Linked DNA regions of Homo sapiens: all the other regions are linked to region 4. The links are contacts of gene promoters, found by promoter capture Hi-C in blood cells and fetal thymus (Javierre and others, 2016). All regions are on one chromosome and are shown on one strand. The core of a region is centred on a gene start or on the middle of the fragment in contact, and the rest is flanking DNA. Distances in the headings are between cores, read along the strand shown. Region 1 has its middle 27 kb from the start of ARID5A. Region 2 overlaps KANSL3 (KAT8 regulatory NSL complex subunit 3). Region 3 overlaps KANSL3 (KAT8 regulatory NSL complex subunit 3). Region 4 holds the start of ASTL (astacin like metalloendopeptidase).

What was found. Contacts are between HindIII fragments. The CHiCAGO score rates a contact against its expected background, and 5 or more counts as called.
Region 1: a fragment that was not itself captured here is called in contact with the fragment with the promoter of ASTL in region 4 in 8 of 17 cell types (total CD8 T cells, naive B cells, naive CD8 T cells and 5 more); the score reaches 7.7 in total CD8 T cells.
Region 2: a fragment that was not itself captured here is called in contact with the fragment with the promoter of ASTL in region 4 in 1 of 17 cell types (naive CD8 T cells); the score reaches 5.0 in naive CD8 T cells.
Region 3: a fragment that was not itself captured here is called in contact with the fragment with the promoter of ASTL in region 4 in 1 of 17 cell types (naive CD8 T cells); the score reaches 5.4 in naive CD8 T cells.

The regions. Positions count from the first base shown.
Region 1 is chr2:96,562,505-96,565,880 of GRCh38, reverse strand. No RefSeq gene overlaps it. Among named protein-coding and RNA genes, the nearest start is that of ARID5A, 27 kb to the right of the region's middle. RefSeq lists enhancers at 502-1,002, 1,073-1,573. The HindIII fragment of the contact is 4,621 bases long and covers 1-3,376 here.
Region 2 is chr2:96,628,051-96,631,641 of GRCh38, reverse strand. KANSL3 (KAT8 regulatory NSL complex subunit 3) reads left to right here. Exons shown (of 21, transcript NM_001115016.3): 3 at 160-330. Among named protein-coding and RNA genes, the nearest start is that of KANSL3, 8.5 kb to the left of the region's middle. The HindIII fragment of the contact is 1,114 bases long and covers 861-1,974 here.
Region 3 is chr2:96,610,061-96,613,117 of GRCh38, reverse strand. KANSL3 (KAT8 regulatory NSL complex subunit 3) reads left to right here. Exons shown (of 21, transcript NM_001115016.3): 7 at 184-300; 8 at 555-656; 9 at 765-836; 10 at 1,980-2,054; 11 at 2,235-2,392. Among named protein-coding and RNA genes, the nearest start is that of KANSL3, 27 kb to the left of the region's middle. The HindIII fragment of the contact is 9,937 bases long and covers 1-3,057 here.
Region 4 is chr2:96,137,221-96,140,583 of GRCh38, reverse strand. It overlaps ASTL (astacin like metalloendopeptidase), which reads left to right and starts at 2,082. Exons shown (of 9, transcript NM_001002036.4): 1 at 2,082-2,202; 2 at 2,884-3,009. The coding sequence starts at 2,148. RefSeq lists a silencer at 1,178-1,267 and an enhancer at 2,158-2,227. The HindIII fragment of the contact is 4,955 bases long and covers 1,525-3,363 here.

The DNA of each region.
Region 1 (3,376 bases), core at 326-2,825, 430 kb before region 4:
AAACAAAGAAAACTCACAGTTTTCAAACATTTCATATCAGTGAGTTTTTCTTTTCCCAGAGGGTACAAATTCTGAATTAATTTGAGTTCAAATAGACAAGCAGAGAAGAATAGAAAACTAGATGCTGTGCTGTCATTCACCCATCAGGACATGACCTCTGGGCCATTAAATCCATTTGGCTACTTCCTCCAGTGTCTCCTTTGCCAGTCTGTGTGCATGTCTGATTGGTTGGTATCTCAGTCACATGCCTGCTCAATGGCAGCAAGGGAGTTTGGGAATGCAGGTTTTTATAGCTTGTCCCTTGGGAAGATGGTACTCAAAATATAGGAAAGGACCAAAATGGGGGCGGTCCAGATGCCCTCAAGGATATTGGGTAGCCATCAGTGACAGACTTGCATCTGGTGTTTCTGATGACCTTCCCTCATTCTCCCTGCCTGTCAATGGAAGCCACTCTCCTAGGGAGGACAGATTTCAGCTCTCTCCCTCGTTCCTGCCCCTCCCTTTCCCTTTCTCTCATGCAAATTCTAATCCCACTCTATCTGATTTAGCATCCCATTGCTTTCTATACAAGCACAGGTTTGACAGGGCCCAACAACGGGGCAGAGAAGCCTGAAAGGGCTGCCTCGTACATGCCAGGCATTGTTTGCATGCAAATGACGGCTAGGTTTTCCCTAGGGAATACCAATCAGATCTGCTTCTTGGTCCTAGTTCTTGAGTGTAGCTGGATCCAAAGCCATCGTCCTGAAAATTCTGGAGTGACTTAAATTCTACACTATGTGGCAAGCCCTCCTCTCCTCATCACAAGTCAGAGGTTCCTGACTTATTGTCTGGAAAGAGTTCTTCCCTTACCTGTGAGCTGGAAGGTGTTCCTTGGCAAAAGTGGTGGAGGATCCAAGATGAAGGACTCGGCAGAAAATCACACACACACACACACACACCCCACCACCACCACCAACAACAAAATACATAAAAAGTGATGGAGGAGAGATTCTGGCCACTAAAGATCAATATCCTTATATTGGCCACAGGGGGGTGATTAGGCTGGCCTGTCAGGTGGCCTTGCTCAGTGCAAGGGCCAGTGAGTCCTCCCACTCATCACTGACTTGGCAGGGGACAAGGCCCAGCCTATCTCCATAGACGTGCCTCTGCTGCCTGGACCCATGGCTGGGGCTCTTGAATGTTCACCATCTGGGACACCTGGATATCTGGCTGATGGTGTTGGAGTGGCAAATGGCAGAAACGACATCTGGCTAGCTTATATCCAAAGAAGGATTTATGAGGAGGATTCTCGGAATTCTCTCCAACTCCAGAAAACATTTAGGATCCTCTGGGATATGCAGGGTCTCCCCGGAGCACAGCGATGACCCTGACTGAGCGCCATTAGTCCAGTTAGATGGTGCCCCTCCCTGGCAGGGGTCGGGTAGTACTGGACCACTCTGGAGATGGCCATGGGCTGGCTACTGCAGCCACAAAGATGTCAGTGATCAAAAGAAGCATTTGATCAGCTGGCCAAGGCTCAGGCATCTGTGTTTGAAGGGGAAGGCGTCAAGGAGTCTGCAACAAGGTTGATGCAAATTCACACAAAACCAGGCACAAAACCTATTGTTGGTCCAGGCTTCCAGACTTGAATGCTACAGCTGGCGGTCACGGCCCAGCCTCGCCCTCCAGGGAACCAGGCAGGAGACATGTCCTAGTGTCATGGGCCTGGGGCCATGTTTCCATGGTGGGCACTGTGGCACTGAGACTGGACCCTGCTTCAGAGGGACAGGGACATCATTCCACCAACCCACTTCTCAAAGTTCTCAATTTGCATAGAAGGCTACTCTCAGGACCTCCCTTCTTCCCAAAAAGGGCAAAGGATGGCCCTGTGTTGTCCCACTGACAAGTGCTGAGAAGCAGCCAGCTTTTCTTTCTGTTTCTCACGACAGTTTGTGTTAGTCTATCCCTGGCATTCTGTGCACAGAGACCAGTGCTTAAAAGGAAAGGAAGGGGATGAAACAAGGGGTTTGGAAAGGAAGAAATATTTACATAGGAGTGATGGTCAAATATGTAATAACTACAATAATCTAAATATAAAATATATATTTTTTATTCTCTAAATAATATAAACACAGTTGACCCTTGAACAACATGGGTTTGAAGCGCTTGGGTCCGCTTATATTTTGATTTTTTTCAAAAGATGTAGTCGGCTCTTGGTATTTACTGATTCCCTATCTGCAAACAAATACAGGTGGAAGATGCAGTATTCTCAAGATGCAAAAACTCGCCTCGTCAGAGGGCAGAATTTTTATATAGGAGGGATCTGCAGGGCAAACTTCTGGACTTGGCCATGCACGGATTTTGGTATGGGGGGAGAGTCCTGGAACCAATTCCCCATGTATACTGAGGGACAACTATTTCTTATAAAACTGCTTGCCAAGTGATGTAAGTTGTAAAACAAACCATTCATCAGATCCCTCTGATCATTTCCAAATCACTCATTGGTTTTCATAAGCTGTTGGTGTGGTCTTTGTTTGACATGGGTGTCCCTAAGTTAGTACGTCCATTTCTGAGCCCACGATGGCATGGGGAGCTGTCCCAGACTTCCATTAAGCTGCTCCTTTTGTGATCTGGTATCAGAAGTCACACACCATCACTTCTGCCTTATTTTATCAGTTCATTAGTTAGATGAGTCACTAATTCCAGCCCACACTCAAGAGGAAGGGAATTAGGCTCCACTTTCTGAAAGGAGTACAAGATTTTGTGGGCATATTTTCCGCTACCACAGTCTGCCTGCTGGCCACAGATTATTTACACCCCTCACTGTATTAGTCTTCTATTTCTGCTCTAATAAATTACCACAAGCCTAGTGACCTAAAACAACACGAATTTATTATATTGCAGTTCTGGAGGTCCGAAGTCCAGTATGGGTCTCACAGCGCTAGAATCAGGTGTCAGTAGGACTGTGTTCCTGCTGGAGGGTCTAGGGGAGAATCTGTCTGCTTGACTTACAGCTTCTAAGAGGCACCCACATTCCTTGGCTTGTGGCTCCTTCTTCTGTCTTCAAAGCCAGCAATGCTGGGCCAAGTCCTTCCTCTGCTGCCTTTTGAGTCTCTTTCTCCCACCTTGTTCTTCCACTCTTAAGGACGCTCATGTGACATTGGGCCCACCCAGTATTTTCTTGACAATCCAGGATAGTCTATTCATATCCAGCAACCATAATTTCATCTGCAACCGGAATTCCCCTTTGCCATGCCCCCTAATATAGTCATAGGTCCTGGGGATTAGGATGTGGACATCTTTAGGAGGCTGTTATTCTGCCTACAGTCCCATATACAGAATATACTCACCCTGTTTAAAGATTCCCCAGAAGCCTTACCCTTTCCAGCATTGGCTT
Region 2 (3,591 bases), core at 168-2,667, 490 kb before region 4:
GGGAAAGATGACTTTGGATCAAAATTTTCTTGTGAATATAATGTGCTTATGCGTAATTTAAAGCTGACTGTATTAAAGATACATTTTTTGTCAACCAGATGATTGTTAAATACCTGTGAAGTATGTGTGGCCCGGTCCTATTTCCTCACCTGTTTACAGTGAATCAGACGTCCCAATAGATGTGGAGACGGTCACATCAACGCCTATGCCACTCTATGACAATCAGAAGGCACGCAGCGTGATGAATGAGTGTGAACGGCATGTCATCTTTGCCAGGACTGATGCAGATGCCCCTCCTCCACCAGAGGACTGGGAGGAGCATGTCAACAGGTAGGCTGCTCATCAGGAGGATGATCACTGCCCTGTAATTATTTTGTATCATCTTCATTGAAATAACACTTATTAGGACCTTATTTCATTTGCAGCAACACAAGTCAGAGTGTTCTCCAAAGTCTCACATTATAACTCTCAGTTCACCATGCTGTGTGTGAGCTCCTTGAGAGTAGGGCTTACATCTCAGCCATCTTTGCATACTTCACACTAGGACGTTGTCTGGCACACAGTAGGCATATAATGTTTGTTGAATAAATAAGTGAATTAAATTTGATACATATGACTAGCTCTGTAGTAGCTTCTGTTGTATAAGTTATGATATAGGGGTTACCCAAACTGCAAAAAAATGAAATGTACATTTGTAAGATATTGTGTTTAAATGGTTTATAACTAGGATGATGGAAGTTGTGAAGTCACATGAAAAGCTAACAGATGTTTGAGTGGCTTTTAAAAATAGATTTGCAGGCTATGGAGGGCACACTGAAGCCTATTTTCACGAGTATACTGGCTAGTTTTGTTCCCAAGCTTTCTACTGCCCCCAGGGGACTCAGCACTCCTCTCCTGGTTATTTGTCCCTGTTCATTTGGTAAACATTTACCTAATTACATAACAGCTTTTTGGGGATATTATTTACATACCATACAATTCAGCTATTTAATATGTACAGTCATTGGTTTTTAGTATAGTCAGAGTTGTATATTCATCACCACTATCAATTTGATAAACATTTTCATCATCCTAAAAAGAAACCTCTTACCCATAAACAGTTACTTCCCGTTTCCTCCCAGCTTCTCTGGTCCCTAGGAAGCACTAATTGACTTTTGTCTTTATAGATTTGCCTATTCTGGACATTTCATATAAATGGAATCATGCAATATGTGGTCTTTTCCTACTGGCTTCTTTCACCCAGCATGATGTTTTCAAGGTTTATCCATGTGGTTGCGTGTATCAGCACTTCATGCTTTTTATTGCCAAATGACATTACATTGTATGGATAGCCCACATTTTATTTATTCATTAATCAGTTGATAGATATTTAGATTGTTTTCATTTTTTGGCAATTGTGAATAATGCTATTATGAACATTTGCATACAAGTTTTTGTGTGGATCTAAGTTTTTAATTCTCTTAGTTATATACCTGGGAGTGGACTTGTTGGGTCATATGATAACTCTGTATTTAACCTTTGAGGAATTGCCAGACTGTTTTCCAAAGTGGCTGTACCATTTTACATTCCTACCAGCAGTGTATGAGAGTTCTAGTTTCTCCATATCCTTGCCAACACTTACTGATTTTCTTCTTTTTTAAAAAAATTATAACCATTCTACTGCGTGTAAAGTGGCATCTCATTGTGGTTTCAACTTATATTTTGTTGATGGCTTTTTGTCTGTGTATCCATATATCTACTATATATATAAGGAAATGTTACTTCTTATATCAGGAGTTGGTAGGTGGTAACTTTCCATAATTTTGGAGAACCCTTATTTTATAATAGAGAGAAAGAGGGGTAGAAAGTTTGAGGTGATTGACATGACTTCTGAAGCTGGTTGGAAGTTGGGAATGAGATTGAACAGGTGTGCTTGTGTGATCAAAACAGCAGCTGTTGAGGGAGGAGCAGTTCTGCACCTTGGTTGAAAAAGCTTGTGAAGAAGTTGGTTGGGGTCTTGCATTGGAATTAATTTAGTGCCTTAAGAAGCTCTTTTCTCACGCCTGTAATCCCAGTACTTTGGGAGGTTGAGGCGGGTGGATCACCTGAGGTCGGGAGTTCAAGACCAGCCTGACCAACATGGAGAAACTCTGTCTCTGCTAAAAATACAAAATTAGCTGGGTGTGGTGGCGCATGCCTGTAATCCCAGCTACTCGGGAGGCTGAGGCAGGAGAATCACTTGAACCTGGGAGGCGGAGGTTGTGGTGAGCCGAGATCGTGCCATTGCACTCCAGTCTGGGCACCAAGAGTGAAACACCATCTCAAAAAAAGAAAAAAAAGCTCTTTTGAGCTTCAGATAAAGAAGAAAACTGCTACGAATGAAGATCAACTACTGGAATATTGCTAGAGTCAGTATATTCAGCAAAAGGATTTATCACTATTTTTACAGTTAATAATAAAAAATAACGACGATGGTAATAACAAAAAGGAGCTACCGTTTGTTGAGTGCTTTCTAGGTGCCAGACATTGTATCAATGTCTCTTCAAATGCATTGTCTCTTAATCCTCCCAATGACTCTTGGAGGTATATCCCCCCTTCATCTCTGCTCAACAGGATGAAGAAACTGAGCTCAGGGTGTTTAAGAAACCTTAATTAGGAAGTGATGGAGAAGGATTTTGTTCAAACCAAGCAGCCTGACTCCAGAACCCAGTGTTCTCAACTACCATACCCTCTGCCTTAATTAAGGGCAGTAAGAAGAGATTAAGACCAGTTAGTGGTGGCTGAACAAGGTGGCCTGGTATGGTTATGTATCCCTTTGTGGTATTTTCTACTACCTTGTCCTTTGCAATTTCAGAAAGTACATAGGAGAACTGTGTGATTTTTTTTTTTTTTGTCAGTTTATCCATGGTTATGATTAAGAGGTTTTTGTGGACAATTCATACTTATCAAAGTCATTAGAGACTTAATAATACTATAAATACCAGTTTGTTTCTTTTTTCTTTTTTTTGAGACAGGGTCTCACTCTGTCACCCAGACTGCAGTGCAGTGGCACGATCTCAGCTCACTACAAGCCTTGACCTCCAGGACTCAGGTGATTCTCCCGGGTGGGAACCTTAACCTCCCAAGTAGCTGGGACTACAGGAGTACGTCACCATTTCTTAATTTTTGTAGTTTTTGTAGAGATTGGGTTTCACCATGTTGCCTAGGCTGGTCTCAAACTCCTGGCTCAAGTGGTCTGCCCACCTTTGCCTCCCAAAGTGCTAGGATTATAGGTGTGAGCCACTGCACTTGGCTGAGTTTCTTAATTTATAAGGAGAGATATAACTGCAAAGCATAAGAGACACTGGGGTGGCCTGGCCAGAGTGTCTGTTCTCAGCAGGAAAGTCTGGAAAACCATTTTATTTCAGAAGTGAATAGATGAGTGGAGAGTCTACACAGGAGGCACAGCAGAATAGCTGGATGTACACATCTTTCCTCTAGGCAAGATGAGTCCACGGAATAGGCCAGTGTGCACCTTCTCCTGCCTGTCCTTTAGAGAAACACTGACAGATTCTTGTCTTTGGCTTATCTTTCTCCAGTCTCCTTGTGGACCACCACCCTTCTGTTATGACA
Region 3 (3,057 bases), core at 550-3,049, 470 kb before region 4:
TGTGAGCCAGCATGACTGGCCAGCTTCTTTAACTATTATTAATAATTTATTTTACATAGTGCTTAACATAATTTCACAAGCAAAGGAGCATTGGTTGGGATGAGAAAGGTATTGGGATACTTGGAATTTCATGAAAGGACACTTCTCACTCACTGGTTTTTGGGTGGGATTCTTCCTCTTTAGAGCAAACTCCCTGGCTCTCCGCTGATTCTCATCGCCTCCTCTGGTCCCTCCAGCTCTGTGTTTCCCACTTCACGCCGCCACCGCTTCTGGCAATCTCAGCTGTCCTGCTTGGGCAAGGTATGTGTGGGGGCAAGAGGAACTCCTTCCTGGCAGGGAATATAGTCTTGGAGGATTGAGGAGAAGAATATGTGGGAGGAGGTCAAAATGGGTAACTTGAATGTGGAGCCTCCTCTAACCCTTCTTTCATGTGGAGCCTCCTCTAATCCTTCTTTCATGTGGAATTCCAAGGTTTTGGGTTTAGGTTAGGTTAAACAGAATTGAAAGATTTGAAACTTACCTCTGCTGGTGTGGGGGCTACTTCTTTCCTTCAGGTCATCCCTGTAGCCACCCATCTGCTGAACAATGGCAGTGGGGTAGGAGTTCTACAGTGTCTCGAGCATATGATTGGGGCAGTGAGAAGCAAAGTGCTGGAGGTGAGAATGCCCGTATTTCAGTACATTGTGGCATACCCAGCATTCTGGGGTTGTTCTGCACCTATCTTTGGCCTCCTGTCTTACTGTCTTCTTTCTCTTCCCATGAAGATTCACAGCCATTTCCCACACAAACCCATTATCTTGATTGGCTGGAACACAGGAGCTTTGGTGGCCTGTCATGTAAGTAATTTCTATCTTATTTGGAGGTTGTCCTGGGATGGAATACCACTAATCATAGCTACCATTGAGTCCTTTACTGTGTGTCAGGCTCTGCGCTAGATACTTTACCTATATAATTACATTTTAAACTGTAGAAGACAAATTTTATTAAAACAATTTTTAATTTATTTTGGAAAACTTTAAGCAGAAACAAAAGCAGGTGTAGTATAATAAACCCCCGGATCCTCACCCAGCTTTACCAGTGATCAACTCTTGGCTGGGCTTGTTTCATCTCACCCTGCTCATTTTCTTTCTCCCCTAGATTGTTTTGAAGAAAATCCCAAATATAATAGCATTTTCACATACACACACACACACACACACACACACACACACACATATGGGTATATATCTGTGGAAAAAAAAAAAAGATCCCTTTTTTTCTCTAAACATAAGTACCATACTGTTCTCCCACCTAAAAAACAACAGTAATTGTAGCTGGCAAATATTAATAGCTCTGGAATTTGATGCTGTGTTCATTTCAGTCTTTTTCCAAGACATCAAGGAATCTTTTCGTATTTTACATATATTTGTATGTCTGTCAGTTTGTGTAAGTGTCCCTCATGTCCAAACCCTTAATTTTGCTTCATGCAGTCCAATCAAGTGTGATAGCTATGAGAGGAAGAAGGTCCCCATAGTCCCTGCTCCCAGGGTGTTAGGCCTTAGCAGTTTGCTCCAAGAAATCTAGGCTGTCTGGTAGCTATCCATTAAGTTCAATAGAGAGAATTTTTTTTCACTTAAGGGTTAATGGCAACATTGTGTTCTCTTGACTATATTTACTATTTGTGGAGAAAAATGGAGCAGGAGGGCTCTAGTTGAGGGGGTTGACAGGGTAGGAATACTGAACCTTCTATCCTATGGTTCAGCCACCTGCTGGGGTCCTCTTAGGGCCCCAGTTCTCTAGGTAGTGGCTGCTTATGGAATGACATACCTTGTGTCTTGTGCTCTTACTGCTGCCATTGTGGCAGAAGATGCACCCGGATATTAGGACAGGAGAGGAAGAGGTGAGACTGTCTGGTGGGTCTGGACCACTCCTGGATTCTGGGTAGGCTGAGGTGCCATGAACTCAGTTGACGTTTAGACAAACTGTTCTGTTATTTACAGGTGTCAGTAATGGAGTATGTCACTGCAGTTGTCTGCCTTGGGTTTCCTCTGCTTACTGTGGATGGCCCCAGAGGGGTAAGAATGTGGTAAAGCTGAGTGCTGGGTCATTGGCAGTGGGAGCGCGAGTGTGCATGCCTTGTCCAAGCTGATGCTGAGGCTGACTGCAGTTGCATGGCTGATCCTCCTTAGTGGAGTTTCTGGGTCAGTGCTTTGTGAATATGAAGAAGCCGATTCTAAAACCTATACCTGTTTTAGGATGTAGATGATCCCCTCTTGGATATGAAGACTCCAGTCCTCTTTGTCATTGGTCAGAATTCCCTTCAATGTCACCCTGAAGCCATGGAGGACTTCCGGGAGAAGATTCGAGCTGAGAACAGCTTGGTGGTGGTTGGGGGAGCTGATGACAATCTCAGGTGGGTGGATTCTCCCAGAGCTGCAAGAGAGCTGTGTTACAGTGTTAGAGATAAGCCTGGAAGCTGGCAATGTAACTACAGACCAGTCTGGTTCAGTTAAAAGACAGCATTAGCCGGGCGCGGTGGCTCACGCCTGTAATCCCAGGACTTTGGGAGGCTGAGGCAGGCGGATCACGAGGTCAGGAGATTGAGACCATCCTGGCTAACACGGTGAAACCCCGTCTCTACTAAAAATACAAAAAATTAGCCAGGCCTGGTGTCGGGCGCCTGTAGTCCCAGCTACTCGGGAGGCTGAGGCAGGAGAATGGTGTGAACCCAGAAGGCGGAGCTTGCAGTGAGCCGAGATCCCGCCACTGCACTCCAGCCTGGGTGACAGAGCAAGACTCTGTCTCAAAAAAAAAAAAAAATTAAAAAAAGACAGCATTAAAAAAACCTTTTTTAATATTTGAAATTTCAGATTTATAAAAAGTTATAACACTAGTACAAAACAATTCCTATATACCCTTCACCTGATTTTCTAAATGTTAAACATCTTACATAGCCAAAGTGTAATTCTCAAAATCAAGAAATTAACATCTACATGATACTGTAATTTACAGACTCATGTTTCATCAGTTGTTTCCCTAATGTCATTTTTCTGGTCCAGCATCCAGCCCAGGATCACA
Region 4 (3,363 bases), core at 833-3,332:
CCCCAGTCCCCAGCCCCTTGTGAGCTCCGTTCCACTTTCCGTCCCTGTGCACTGGGCTACTCTAGACACCTCTTGGAGGTAGAAGCATGCAGGATTTGTCTTTTTGTGACTGGCTTGTTTCGCTCAGCAAAATATCCTCAGACCAACTGCATGTCCTAATAAAGACTCTGTTTCTCTCCCCAAGCAGGGTGATTATTTCTTATCATTATTTTAATTCTTTTGTTTTTTGAGACAGAGTCTCACTCTGTTGCCCAGGCTGGAGTGCAGTGGCACAATCTTGGCTCACTGCAACCTCTGCCTCCTGAGTTCAAGGGATTTCTGGCTAATTTTTGTATTTTTAGTAGAGATGGGGTTTCACCGTGTTGGCTAGGCTGGTCTCGAACTCCTGACCTCAAGTAATCTGCCTGCCTTGGCCTCCCAAAATGCTGGGATTACAGGCATGAGCCACTGCGCCCGGTCTACTTTATTTTTTTTTACTGAACATTCATCTTTTTTTTTGAGATGGAGTCTCACTCTGTCCCCCGGGCTAGAGTGCAGTGGCGCGATTTTGGCTCATTGCAAACTCCACCTCTGGGTTCAAGTGATTCACCTGCCTCAGCCTCCCGAGTAGGTGGGATTACAGGTGCCCGCCACCGTGCCCAGCTAATTTTTGTATTCTTTTAGTAGAGATGGGGTTTCACCATGGTGGCCAGTCTGGTCTTGAATTCCTGACCTCGTGATCCACCTGCCTTGGCCTCCCAAAGTGCTGGGATTATAGGCGTGAGCCACCGCGCCCTCCTGAACACTCATCTTAAGTGGTCAGCCTTGTGCATTTGTTTTTTGATGGGTCCTATTCTTTATTTTACTTATTTTTTCTAGGTTTACTGAGGCATAATCGACAAATAAAAGTAGTATATGTTTAAGTATACAACGTGATGTTTTGACATATGCATACCTTGTGAAATGATGACCACAACAAGCTAACTAGCATATCCATGGTGTGTATCCTGACATCTGTCAATACCCTGCCCTGGCAGCAGGGCGTCTGCCTCCATCATGGTCTCCCTGTGATTCTGATTCCTATCTTTGGAGAAGCTCTGGATTCCAGGCACAGTGGGAATGCTGAAAGGTCCTTGTGGACAATAGCTATTCTTCTTGGCTCTGTCGCTTCCCTTCACTGGGTGCAGGTGACTGTGGGGGTGTCCCCAAATGCTGCCCAGCGCTGACATGCTCCGCCTCTGGGATTTCAATCCAGGTGGGGCCCTGAGTGACCTGGCTCTGGGGCTCAGGGGTATGGAGGAGGGGGGATATAGGTAAGGAGTTTAAATTTCCAAATCTGTGAAATGGGAATAAATACTGACTGATCATGCCAGCTGCTGTGGGATTAGGGGGTGGACTCCCTGCGAGGCTCTGGGCATCTGGGGGTTCCACCTTTCCCACATGGCAGGCTTTCTAGGGTGCTGCACACTGTTCAGTTTGTGAAATTTCCTGGAGCCCTGTGCTTGTGATAGTGAACTTTTCTATATGTGTACTAAAATAAAAGCTTGTGAAAGTGCAGTGACCTTTTCCTCCTTCCGGAGATACACGGGGGGCGCCCCAGGGTCTCAGGCAGCTTTCCCCATGTCTAAGCACAGGCCGGGGTAGGAAAGGGGGTCTCCCTCGCTGGAGGAATAGGTCTATACCTGGGCTGGGGCCTCAGCTAGGCCTGGAGCAACTTTCTGCGATGTTTCTCTGCCCCCTGGAGGCAGGAAGGAACCTCAGAAGAGCCACACTCCCAAGCGGGCCCCTCCTGTCTTTCACCTGCTACAGCCAGGAAGGGGACTGGGCTGGGGTGGGAACCACAGGTAGGCATCGGAGGGGCTGCCAGTAGACCTGGTTTGGGTGGCGCTGCCGGTAGAGCTGGTTGGGGCGGGGCTGCAGGTGGAGCTGGTTGGGGCGGGGCTGCAGGTGGAGGTGGTTGGGGCGGGGCTGCAGGTGGAGATGGTTGGGGCGGGGCTGCAGGTGGAGGTGGTTGGGGCGGGGCTGCAGGTGGAGGCGGTTGAGGGGAGCAAGGTGGGAGGTGGAGCAGCTGCTATTTAAGAGGGGGTGGTGGTGCCGGTTCTGCAATTAGGTTACTGTGTCTTGCTGGGGCTTGGTCTTGTTTGCTGAAGGGGCAGCAGGGCTCTACCATGGAGGGTGTAGGGGGTCTCTGGCCTTGGGTGCTGGGTCTGCTCTCCTTGCCAGGTAAGCTGGCTGCCTGTCCCTCCTGCTGCTGGCTCCAGCCTGGAGAAAGCTGGGGAGAGGCTAGAAGGTTGTGGCTGGAGCCTGCAGGGATTGTAGCTGAGCTCAGTAGCTCAGAGCACAGAGCTCTCCAGGGTTATTCTAGAAGTCAGCTCCTGGGGGGCCAAGGGGAGGCCTCCTGAAGGCCCTGGAAGCAGAGGGCCTGCCTGGCAGAAGATAAGTGTTGTGCCCCAGGCCTACTTGTCTTGGGGTGGGGGTAGGCTGTAAGTCCCCACTCCAGCCTGGTCAGGCAGGGAGTCATCCAGGCTGAGCCCATTGTCCAAGAGCCTGGGCTGAGAGAGAGTCATAAGGTGGGGTCTGAGGCTGGCCCTGCCCGTCACGGGCGTCAGAACCCGAGGTCTGTCCTGCCTCCTTCCTTCCTGCCCCTCCTCTACCTCATAGGTGGGGCACATGGTCCCTTTTGGTCCCCCTAAGGGAGCTCCTTCCCTGAGGTCATCTAGACCTTGGCACCAGTTGGGGTTGAGCAGGGAGGCTGGGAAGGCTCCTTGGCTTTGTGCTGGAGCCTACTCTTCCTAGGGACTGAGTCTTACCGTCTGATCCCCCACACCCACCCCATGTCCTGCTGTCTGGTCTCACCGGTGGGTGCTCCAGGCATCTGTGTATGCCCCTGTCTGTCTGGACCAGGTGTGATCCTAGGAGCGCCCCTGGCCTCCAGCTGCGCAGGAGCCTGTGGTACCAGCTTCCCAGATGGCCTCACCCCTGAGGGAACCCAGGCCTCCGGGGACAAGGACATTCCTGCAATTAACCAAGGTGAGGGCACTACATCTTCTCACGGCCTGGAGGGGCACGACGTTATGTAGTGTGAAAACCACACCGAACACTCAGAAATGCAGAGCCTGGGAGGAAATGGACCAGCTTACTCTGGGCTCTAAGTGGTTTTTAAGAGATGGAGTGGTGTTGCTATATTGCCCCGGCTGGTCTTGAACTCCTGGCCTTAAGTGATCTTCCTGCCTCTGCCTCCCGAGCAGCTGGGACTACAGGTGTGAATGGGTGGAAATTCTATGGGCAATTGCTTAAGTCTACTCTTTCTTTTTGTATCTTTCTTAGTGGATTGTTACTTTTATAAGAAAAACCAAGCTCTTAAAGGGCCTGGGCGTGGAGCTA